3 separate regions of the Homo sapiens genome follow, and all the other regions are linked to region 2. Evidence: promoter capture Hi-C in human tissues and cell types (Jung and others, 2019). All regions are on one chromosome and are shown on one strand. The core of a region is centred on a gene start or on the middle of the fragment in contact, and the rest is flanking DNA. Distances in the headings are between cores, read along the strand shown. Region 1 overlaps RIC8A (RIC8 guanine nucleotide exchange factor A). Region 2 holds the start of HRAS (HRas proto-oncogene, GTPase). Region 3 holds the start of SIRT3 (sirtuin 3).

Evidence for each region. Contacts are between HindIII fragments. The study calls those that stand out against the background at their distance.
Region 1: a contact is called between a fragment that was not itself captured here and the fragment with the promoter of HRAS in region 2, in 1 of the 25 tissues and cell types used here (lymphoblastoid cells).
Region 3: a contact is called between the fragment with the promoter of SIRT3 here and the fragment with the promoter of HRAS in region 2, in 1 of the 25 tissues and cell types used here (dorsolateral prefrontal cortex).

Annotation. Positions count from the first base shown.
Region 1 is chr11:213,491-216,957 of GRCh38, reverse strand. It overlaps RIC8A (RIC8 guanine nucleotide exchange factor A), which reads right to left. Exons shown (of 10, transcript NM_001286134.2): 10 at 1,845-2,728. The coding sequence ends at 2,608. It overlaps SIRT3 (sirtuin 3), which reads left to right. Exons shown (of 7, transcript NM_012239.6): 7 at 240-1,928. The coding sequence ends at 260. Among named protein-coding and RNA genes, the nearest start is that of MIR6743, 5.9 kb to the right of the region's middle. The HindIII fragment of the contact is 6,100 bases long and covers 1-3,467 here.
Region 2 is chr11:534,126-536,825 of GRCh38, reverse strand. It overlaps HRAS (HRas proto-oncogene, GTPase), which reads left to right and starts at 1,250. Exons shown (of 6, transcript NM_005343.4): 1 at 1,250-1,410; 2 at 2,451-2,614. The coding sequence starts at 2,504. It also overlaps a transcript of LRRC56 not described here. RefSeq lists enhancers at 591-1,298, 1,320-2,176, 2,177-2,700 and a silencer at 2,154-2,313. The HindIII fragment of the contact is 24,710 bases long and covers 1-2,700 here.
Region 3 is chr11:234,157-237,690 of GRCh38, reverse strand. SIRT3 (sirtuin 3) reads left to right here and starts at 1,349. Exons shown (of 7, transcript NM_012239.6): 1 at 1,349-1,643. The coding sequence starts at 1,363. PSMD13 (proteasome 26S subunit, non-ATPase 13) reads right to left here and starts at 715. Exons shown (of 13, transcript NM_002817.4): 1 at 547-715. The coding sequence starts at 641. RefSeq lists enhancers at 464-703, 864-1,053 and a silencer at 1,204-1,283. The HindIII fragment of the contact is 7,029 bases long and covers 1-3,534 here.

The DNA of each region.
Region 1 (3,467 bases), core at 752-3,251, 320 kb after region 2:
TACATATTGATTTGGGTACTTTAAGACCCATAGAATGAGGCTCTCCATTTAGCCACCCTGTTCTGCCCAGGCCTGCTGGGATCCTCTTAGCCCAGCACAGCAGCAGCAGTATTTGCAGAAAGCAGCTTGTTTTGTGAAATATTTTGCATGTCTGCAGCTAGAGCTGTTTGAACAGAGATCTGCTGGCCTGCCTGGGTGTGTAAACAGATAGCTGATACCCTCTGTCTTCTGTATTCCAGCTTGATGGACCAGACAAATAGGATGATGGCTGCCCCCACACAATAAATGGTAACATAGGAGACATCCACATCCCAATTCTGACAAGACCTCATGCCTGAAGACAGCTTGGGCAGGTGAAACCAGAATATGTGAACTGAGTGGACACCCGAGGCTGCCACTGGAATGTCTTCTCAGGCCATGAGCTGCAGTGACTGGTAGGGCTGTGTTTACAGTCAGGGCCACCCCGTCACATATACAAAGGAGCTGCCTGCCTGTTTGCTGTGTTGAACTCTTCACTCTGCTGAAGCTCCTAATGGAAAAAGCTTTCTTCTGACTGTGACCCTCTTGAACTGAATCAGACCAACTGGAATCCCAGACCGAGTCTGCTTTCTGTGCCTAGTTGAACGGCAAGCTCGGCATCTGTTGGTTACAAGATCCAGACTTGGGCCGAGCGGTCCCCAGCCCTCTTCATGTTCCGAAGTGTAGTCTTGAGGCCCTGGTGCCGCACTTCTAGCATGTTGGTCTCCTTTAGTGGGGCTATTTTTAATGAGAGAAAATCTGTTCTTTCCAGCATGAAATACATTTAGTCTCCTCAAAGGGACTGCAGGTGTTGACATGAGTTGGAAAGGGAACCCTGGGATACGTGGCGTCCCCTCTATTGGAACAGTCTGAGGACTGAAGGCATTTGTCCCTGGATTTATTGGAGACGGCCCAGCTCCTCCCTCTGAAGGTGGTCACATTCTGTTGACTCTCCATACTCAGCCTCTCCTCCAGAAACAGATCTGTTCCAGAACATTCCAGCACTTTCTATCTGGCCTCCTTGTCCCCACACTACGCCCCCCCACCCTCGCCAGGGCTTCCTCTAGTGACACTGTTAGAGCTAATCTCTGAGACAGGGAAGGCATTACTCACTTAAAACCCAGGCTGAGTCCTGGCCACCTGCTGGATTGTGACATAGGAGGTGGAATCCACTGAACTGCTACTTCTGCACAGGCTCCTTCTCCTGGGGCTGTACCCAGGCCCAGCCCTGATGGCTCACCCTGTCAGGCACCAGCTGCTCCCTCCTGGGCTCTCACCCACCTGCACATCCTCCTTCCTAGCATCACATTACCTGCGTGTTTCCCCAGACAAAAGCACTTCCCATTCTTGAACCTTGCCTACCCTGGGCTGAGCTGACGGCAATAGATTTAATGACAGTGACTCCCAGGAAGGGGGTCCTGTGACTTTGCGCCTTAATAAGAACAAAAGGTGGAATTGGTGACCTAGGAAAACTGTTGAATTCTAAAAAGAATGAAGTTAGTTTCTAACCCTAGTTAATGTTCCTTTTTTATTTTTTGAGTCTTGCCCTGTCACTCAGGGTGGAGTGCGGTGTTATGATCTCAGCTCACTGCAACTTCCGCCTCCCGGGTTTAAGCGATTCTCCTGGGTAGCTGGGATTACAGGTGTGTCCCACCACACCTAGCACATGGGCATATTTGTAATAGAGACAAGGTTTTGCTATGTTGGCCAGGCTGGTCTCGAACTCCTGGCTTCAAGTGATCCACCCACCTCGGCCTCCCAAAGTGCTGGGATTACAGGCATGAGCCACTGTGCCTGGCCCCTTTATTTGATAATTTACACATACATTTTTGTCCAAAACTCTTCTTTATTTCAAGATGATGTTTCTGTGGCTATGTGTGGTATGTGGTATAAATCTCAATCTATGGTCACACGAGGGGCATTTTCCTTGTTGTAAGTGTAGTCTAAACCAGTAGGAAGGAGGTTTAATTGCCAAAACCAGCGAGAACTCGGGCACTGTGGATACTACAGTGGGCAGCTGAACGAGGACCAAGGAGAATGTCTAAGAGGCCTCCAGCCCTGCGCTCAGTGAAGACAGGACAGGAACAACAGAGCATACATACCTTGGAAGGGTGTGTTCTGATATACTCGTATGGAAAGTTCTGACAGGTTTTCTCCCTGGGAAGTGCAGCACATACCCCAACACACTGGCTCTGCCAGTGTGCCAATCCCAGATGGTGCTTGCTTTGTGTGCACCCACACCCAAACCCCTGCCCTCCCATATGCTCTTCTGTGTGCCCAGGTAGGCCCTGCCCTCAGGCAGCAGCTTCTGAACACATTCCTCTTGGCGCAGACAAAAGAAAGTACTTCGTCTGTGGAATTCGAGGCTGAGCCTGAGTTCTAGCACAAGAAGACCGTTGCAGTCCAGAGATGAGAAACTGGACCAGAGGCAAATCATGAACAGAACGGGAGTCAAGAGAAGGGGTTTCTAAGATGGAGAAGTGGGGGCGGGTGTGGATCCAGTGGGATGTGGCTTCCCCAGGTTGCAACCCCAAGGAAGTCTCTGGAAGCAGCACCAGTCCTGATGGGGGAGCAGAAGAGCTGCCATCCTCAGTCAGGGTCCGAGTCAGGGTCCGAGGAGAGCTGCTGCTCCATAGTCTCGCACATGGCATCCTGCAGGGACGTAAGATGACCCCGGGGACTCATCCCCATTGGCTGGATGACTCTGTTCCTGTTGGGGAAAGGTGCAGTGGGGCTGGGGAAGGGGCCCAGTTGGCCAGGCAGGGGTCCTACTCACCCGTGGCTGCTACCTTCCTCTCTACCAAGTAGGCTGCTCCCATTTACTGGGGAAGCCTGGTTGGACCTTCTGTTAACTGGGCCCAAACCCTAACTGCTGCCTCCTGGCTTTAAGCAGTTTCCTATTTTAAACATCTAAATTGGCCTTAAGCAGGCTCTTAATTTGGACACTGGGCCATCTCCAATAAATCTGGCGACATTAGTCTCTTTTTTTTTTTTGAGACGAAGTCTCACTCTGTTGCCAGGCTGGAGTGCGGTGGCACAATGTCAGCTCACTGCAAGCTCTGCCTCCTGGGTTCAAGTGATTCCCCTGCCTCAACCTCCCGAGCAGCTGGGACTACAGGCGCCCACCACCACGCCCAGCTAACTTTTTTTTTGTATTTTAGCAGAGATGGGGTTTCACCATGTTGGCCAGGATGGTCTCGATCTCCTGACCTTGTGATCTACCTGCCTCAGTCTCCCAAAGTGCTGGGATTATAGGCGTGAGCTACCACGCCCGGCCTTAGACAGTCTCTTAATTTCTCTGGGCCTCAGTTATCATCTGTAAAAGGGGCACAATACTGATCTCAATATACCCATCCCCTGGGGGATTTCCTCCAGGGCAAGTGATTTCAAACGTGAGCAATGCAACCTAATACCAGGATCCTAAGCTCTCCTCTGATCCTACCTCCTGG
Region 2 (2,700 bases), core at 1-2,500:
AGGCGGGCGCTGGACTGGGCAGAGGCAGGGTTTGCCTGACTGTAAAACGCCTTTTTTGTTTTGAGACGAAGTAGCGCTCTGTTGCCCAGTGCAGTGGCGCGATTTCGGCTCACCGCAACATCCGCCTCCCGGGTTCCAGCGATTCTCCTGCCTCAGCCTCCCGAGTAGCTGGGACTACAGGCGCGCGCCACTGCAGCCGACTAATTTTTTGTGTTTTTAGTAGAGACAGGGTTTCATCATGTTGGCCAGGCTGGTCTTGAACTCCTGACCTCAAGTAATCCACCCGCTTAGGCCTCCCGAAGTGCTGGGATTATAGGCGTGAGCCACCGCGCCCGGCCCTTTTTGTTTTTTAATGAGGATGTATTTCTGATTCCTTTGCAATTTTAAAAAATGTTAAAAACATGTCTTTTTGGGTTTGAAAGAGCTAGGATGTGCGTCTATGTGCTTGGGGTGAGCCCTGGGCACTTCGCTCCCCTGTGGCAACTTGTGGGTACGGTTTAACTGGACCACGCTGAGCTTCTGCAGCGTTGGAACCTCAAGTTTGGGGGGACTGGGCGGGCAGGGTCGCCTGCCACGCAGGCCCGAGAAAGAGGAGAGTGGTGGAGGGGGCGTTCTCACGCCTGGCCCCAGGGCACACGGCTGCGCCCGCCGCCCGGAACCCCACCGGGGCTGCAAGCGTCCTCGGGGTGGGTTGCGGTGGGAGTAGGGGAGCTGGGGTGCGTGGTGGTAGGTGGGGTGCGCGGCCGCTCCACCTGCGCGGAAGGGCAGCCGGGCAACCGGACCCCGCGGCCACCCGGGGGCCCCCAGCTCCGAGCATCCCGCCTTGGTCCCGGCGGATCCCAGCCTTTCCCCAGCCCGTAGCCCCGGGACCTCCGCGGTGGGCGGCGCCGCGCTGCCGGCGCAGGGAGGGCCTCTGGTGCACCGGCACCGCTGAGTCGGGTTCTCTCGCCGGCCTGTTCCCGGGAGAGCCCGGGGCCCTGCTCGGAGATGCCGCCCCGGGCCCCCAGACACCGGCTCCCTGGCCTTCCTCGAGCAACCCCGAGCTCGGCTCCGGTCTCCAGCCAAGCCCAACCCCGAGAGGCCGCGGCCCTACTGGCTCCGCCTCCCGCGTTGCTCCCGGAAGCCCCGCCCGACCGCGGCTCCTGACAGACGGGCCGCTCAGCCAACCGGGGTGGGGCGGGGCCCGATGGCGCGCAGCCAATGGTAGGCCGCGCCTGGCAGACGGACGGGCGCGGGGCGGGGCGTGCGCAGGCCCGCCCGAGTCTCCGCCGCCCGTGCCCTGCGCCCGCAACCCGAGCCGCACCCGCCGCGGACGGAGCCCATGCGCGGGGCGAACCGCGCGCCCCCGCCCCCGCCCCGCCCCGGCCTCGGCCCCGGCCCTGGCCCCGGGGGCAGTCGCGCCTGTGAACGGTGAGTGCGGGCAGGGATCGGCCGGGCCGCGCGCCCTCCTCGCCCCCAGGCGGCAGCAATACGCGCGGCGCGGGCCGGGGGCGCGGGGCCGGCGGGCGTAAGCGGCGGCGGCGGCGGCGGCGGCGGGTGGGTGGGGCCGGGCGGGGCCCGCGGGCACAGGTGAGCGGGCGTCGGGGGCTGCGGCGGGCGGGGGCCCCTTCCTCCCTGGGGCCTGCGGGAATCCGGGCCCCACCCGTGGCCTCGCGCTGGGCACGGTCCCCACGCCGGCGTACCCGGGAGCCTCGGGCCCGGCGCCCTCACACCCGGGGGCGTCTGGGAGGAGGCGGCCGCGGCCACGGCACGCCCGGGCACCCCCGATTCAGCATCACAGGTCGCGGACCAGGCCGGGGGCCTCAGCCCCAGTGCCTTTTCCCTCTCCGGGTCTCCCGCGCCGCTTCTCGGCCCCTTCCTGTCGCTCAGTCCCTGCTTCCCAGGAGCTCCTCTGTCTTCTCCAGCTTTCTGTGGCTGAAAGATGCCCCCGGTTCCCCGCCGGGGGTGCGGGGCGCTGCCCGGGTCTGCCCTCCCCTCGGCGGCGCCTAGTACGCAGTAGGCGCTCAGCAAATACTTGTCGGAGGCACCAGCGCCGCGGGGCCTGCAGGCTGGCACTAGCCTGCCCGGGCACGCCGTGGCGCGCTCCGCCGTGGCCAGACCTGTTCTGGAGGACGGTAACCTCAGCCCTCGGGCGCCTCCCTTTAGCCTTTCTGCCGACCCAGCAGCTTCTAATTTGGGTGCGTGGTTGAGAGCGCTCAGCTGTCAGCCCTGCCTTTGAGGGCTGGGTCCCTTTTCCCATCACTGGGTCATTAAGAGCAAGTGGGGGCGAGGCGACAGCCCTCCCGCACGCTGGGTTGCAGCTGCACAGGTAGGCACGCTGCAGTCCTTGCTGCCTGGCGTTGGGGCCCAGGGACCGCTGTGGGTTTGCCCTTCAGATGGCCCTGCCAGCAGCTGCCCTGTGGGGCCTGGGGCTGGGCCTGGGCCTGGCTGAGCAGGGCCCTCCTTGGCAGGTGGGGCAGGAGACCCTGTAGGAGGACCCCGGGCCGCAGGCCCCTGAGGAGCGATGACGGAATATAAGCTGGTGGTGGTGGGCGCCGGCGGTGTGGGCAAGAGTGCGCTGACCATCCAGCTGATCCAGAACCATTTTGTGGACGAATACGACCCCACTATAGAGGTGAGCCTGGCGCCGCCGTCCAGGTGCCAGCAGCTGCTGCGGGCGAGCCCAGGACACAGCCAGGATAGGGCTGGCTGCAGCCCCTG
Region 3 (3,534 bases), core at 100-2,599, 300 kb after region 2:
GTGGTTGCACCCCGTGCAACCAGCTGCAGAATGAATAGGGAAAACAGCAAAGCTGTACTAGCCTCTGGTTTATCAACTCCAGACCATGAGAAAGATAACTGTAGATACAGTTACACTATGACAAGGCTAAGCACGAATCACCAACATGTTTCCCAAAGTGGGTGGTGGCCCTGAAAGTGTGTTTGCTTGTTAGATGGAATCAAGAGCTAAAATCAAAGGCTACTCCTGAACCGTTTTAGTAAGACCCGAGGTAGGAGTTCAGAAGCCTCAGTCTCAGTCCCCCGTTAAGGAAGCAGTGAATCTCAGACCGAAACATCCTGGCTACAGCTCTTGGCCCTCGTGGTCTGTCATCCCTCTTATTCCTCGACCCTGCCACTCAAGGTTCCTCAGCAAACCTTGCCGGCACAGCCGGTCGCTACACGTCCCCGTTTCCCCCCAACTTGGGTCTGGGCGCCCTCAGCCCATCAAGGGTCCGCTCCTCCGCCCGCCTGCCCCCTCCGTCTCCCTCTATCGCCGGGGCCCAGGGCCCGTCTGCTCGGCGCTCACTTCTTCGTGTAGAGCTCCTCCAGACGGTGCCACACAGCGGGCTGCCCGGGCCCGGAGTTCTGGCTCTGCTGTAGGAAGCCCGGTACGTCCTTCATGACAGCAGGAAGACCCCCGGCACAGAAGAACAACCGGGATGTCAGCACCGCGGGGATGGCTGCCGGAAATGCTCACTCACTTCCGGCGCCGAGCGGCGCGGGGCAGGCTGGGAGCGCCGTAGCAGGCCGGGGGCGGGCCCCGCTGGTTGCTCGGTTACAGCGCGTCTCTGCGCTCCGGACAAAACTCTCCGGCGTTTGCAGCCCACTTCCCGCGCACTTGGCTGTGCCATTGAGGCGTCAAAGAGTGTGGGCGCCTGTGGTCGAACCCGCTACGGACTAGCTTTGTGGTGTCAGCCTTTGTGACCCGGAATTGCTCCTGTCAAATGAGGATCTTCCCAGTAGTGTTTTGCGAGGATTAGGTGTAAATATAATGCCTGACCATAGTAAAAGCGCTCAGAAAGTATTAACTATCACCGCCATCCGGGTTGAAAAAGGTGTGAGCGCAGGGTACAGAAATGCTGGCTCCAGGTTTGACCTCCGGGGCGAGAGATGAGACACCAGACTAGGGAACTTCCTCTACTCGCCTCTACGTCTACCTGGGCGCGCCGGAGGCGTCGGCAAGGAGGCGGGGGCGGGGCGCGGAGGCGGGACCGGGGCGCCGGGGGCGGGGGCGGTAGGCGGAGGCGGGGCTGGGGCGCCGGGGGCGGGGGTGGGAGGCGGAGGCGGGGCCGGGGCGCCGGGGGCGGGGCGAGTCCGGAGGACTCCTTGGACTGCGCGGAACATGGCGTTCTGGGGTTGGCGCGCCGCGGCAGCCCTCCGGCTGTGGGGCCGGGTAGTTGAACGGGTCGAGGCCGGGGGAGGCGTGGGGCCGTTTCAGGCCTGCGGCTGTCGGCTGGTGCTTGGCGGCAGGGACGATGTGAGTGCGGGGCTGAGAGGCAGCCATGGGGCCCGCGGTGAGCCCTTGGACCCGGCGCGCCCCTTGCAGAGGCCTCCCAGACCCGAGGTGCCCAGGGCATTCCGGAGGCAGCCGAGGGCAGCAGCTCCCAGTTTCTTCTTTTCGAGGTATTTTGGGCAAGGACAAGCACTTCTTGCGTGTTCGTTGTCGACACCTCGCCCACTCTTTCTCACCTTGCCGTGTTTCCTTTGCGGCATGTCTGGGAGTTTACGTGCGTTCCAACACCGGGGCCTCCGTCTTTATGCTGATCTGTGGACGTCACTTATGGGGGTTTTGTCGTTTATTTCACCATTCCCTCATTGAAATACGTTCTAACCTTTAGTTATTGTGCATCATGCTGTGGTGAATAACCTTGTTGGCACCTCACTGTTTGCATAAATTCCTAGTACTGGGATTGCTAGGTCCAAAAGTATATGCATTTAACGCTTTAATGATCCCTCATAAATGTTGTGCGGTTAATACTCCCACTGGCATGTGATCGTACCCGTCTCCATAGTAATTGCATCTAAGAACTGAGGCTACATAGGAAAAAATCTTAAGGTCCATGGTTGTTAGGTATCAGATGCCCTATAATGGATGAATATTTAAGTAAATAATGGCACATTGACTTGCTGTCTGACACAACTGCTGAAAATGTTGGTGAAAAGTGAGTCTCGAAGTGGTAGCTCACACTTGTAATACCAGCACTTTCGGAGGCTGAGACGGGGATCGCTCGAGGCCAGGAGTTCAAGAGCAGCCTGGGCAACATAACGAGACCCCCATCTCTACCAAAAATTTAAAAATTAGCCGGGCATGGTGGCGCAAGCCTGTTGTCCCAGTTACTCCTGAGACTAAGGCAAGAGGATCCCTTGAGTCCAGGAGTTCAAGGCTGCAGTGAGCTATGATTGAGCCACTGCACTCCAGCCTGGGTGACAGAGCAAGACTCTTATCTACCTGTGGGAAAAAAAAAAGAAAAAAGTTTAATAGATCCTGAAGAGTTGGCCGGGCGCGGTAGCTCACGCCTGTAATCCCAGCACTTTGGGAGGATGAGACGGGTGGATAACGAGGTCAGGAGTTCGAGACCAGCTGGGCCAACATGGTGAAACCCCATTTCTACTGAAATTACAAAAATTAGCCGGGCGTGGTGGCGGGCGCCTGTAATCCTAGCTACTCAGGAGGCGGAGGCAGGAGAATCACTTGAACCCGGAAGGCAGAGGTTGCAGTGAGCCGAGATGGCACCATTGCACTCCAGCCCGGGCGAAAGAGCAAAAACTCCGTCTCAAAAAAAAACAAAGATCCCGAAGAGTCAGTCGTTCATCCAAGAAGCCCTGACTGAGCTCTTATTCTGTGCCAGACTCTGTTCTAGGTGCTATGGATGGAGCAGGGACCAGGACCTACAAACACGTGGAGCGCATTCTAATATCTGTGATACTCTGCAAAACTGTTAAAACAAATCCTTGCGGCCGGGCGCGGTGGCTCACGCCTGTAATTCCAGCACTTTGGAAGGCCGAGACGGGCGGATCACGAGGTCAGGAGATCGAGACCATCCTGGCTAACACAGTGAAACCCCGTCTTTACTAAAAATACAAGGAAATTAGCCAGGCGTGGTGGCGGGTGCCTGTAGTCCCAGCTACTCGGGAGGCTGAGGCAGGAGAATGGCGTGAACCTGGGAGGCGGAGCTTGCAGTGAGCCGAGATCGCGACACTGCACTCCAGCCTGGGCAACAGAGCGAGACTCCGTCTCAAAACAAAACAAAACAAAACAAAACAAAAATCCTTGCTACCACTGGCCCTAAAGCAGGAGGCATAGGGCTGCGTGTGAGGAGTAGTCCATTGCATGGGCTTCCTCCAGTTTGGCTTTGGATTTTTGAGCTCTCTGAATTTGTTGTTTGTGTCCTTTGCACAGTGTCCCTCCCAGGTTGCACCCATGCCTGCCCCTCAGGGTCCCCCACTCCCAGTGAATTTCACACCATGCAGCATGTACTTTAAGCCATACATCTTACGTATGTTCCAGACATTT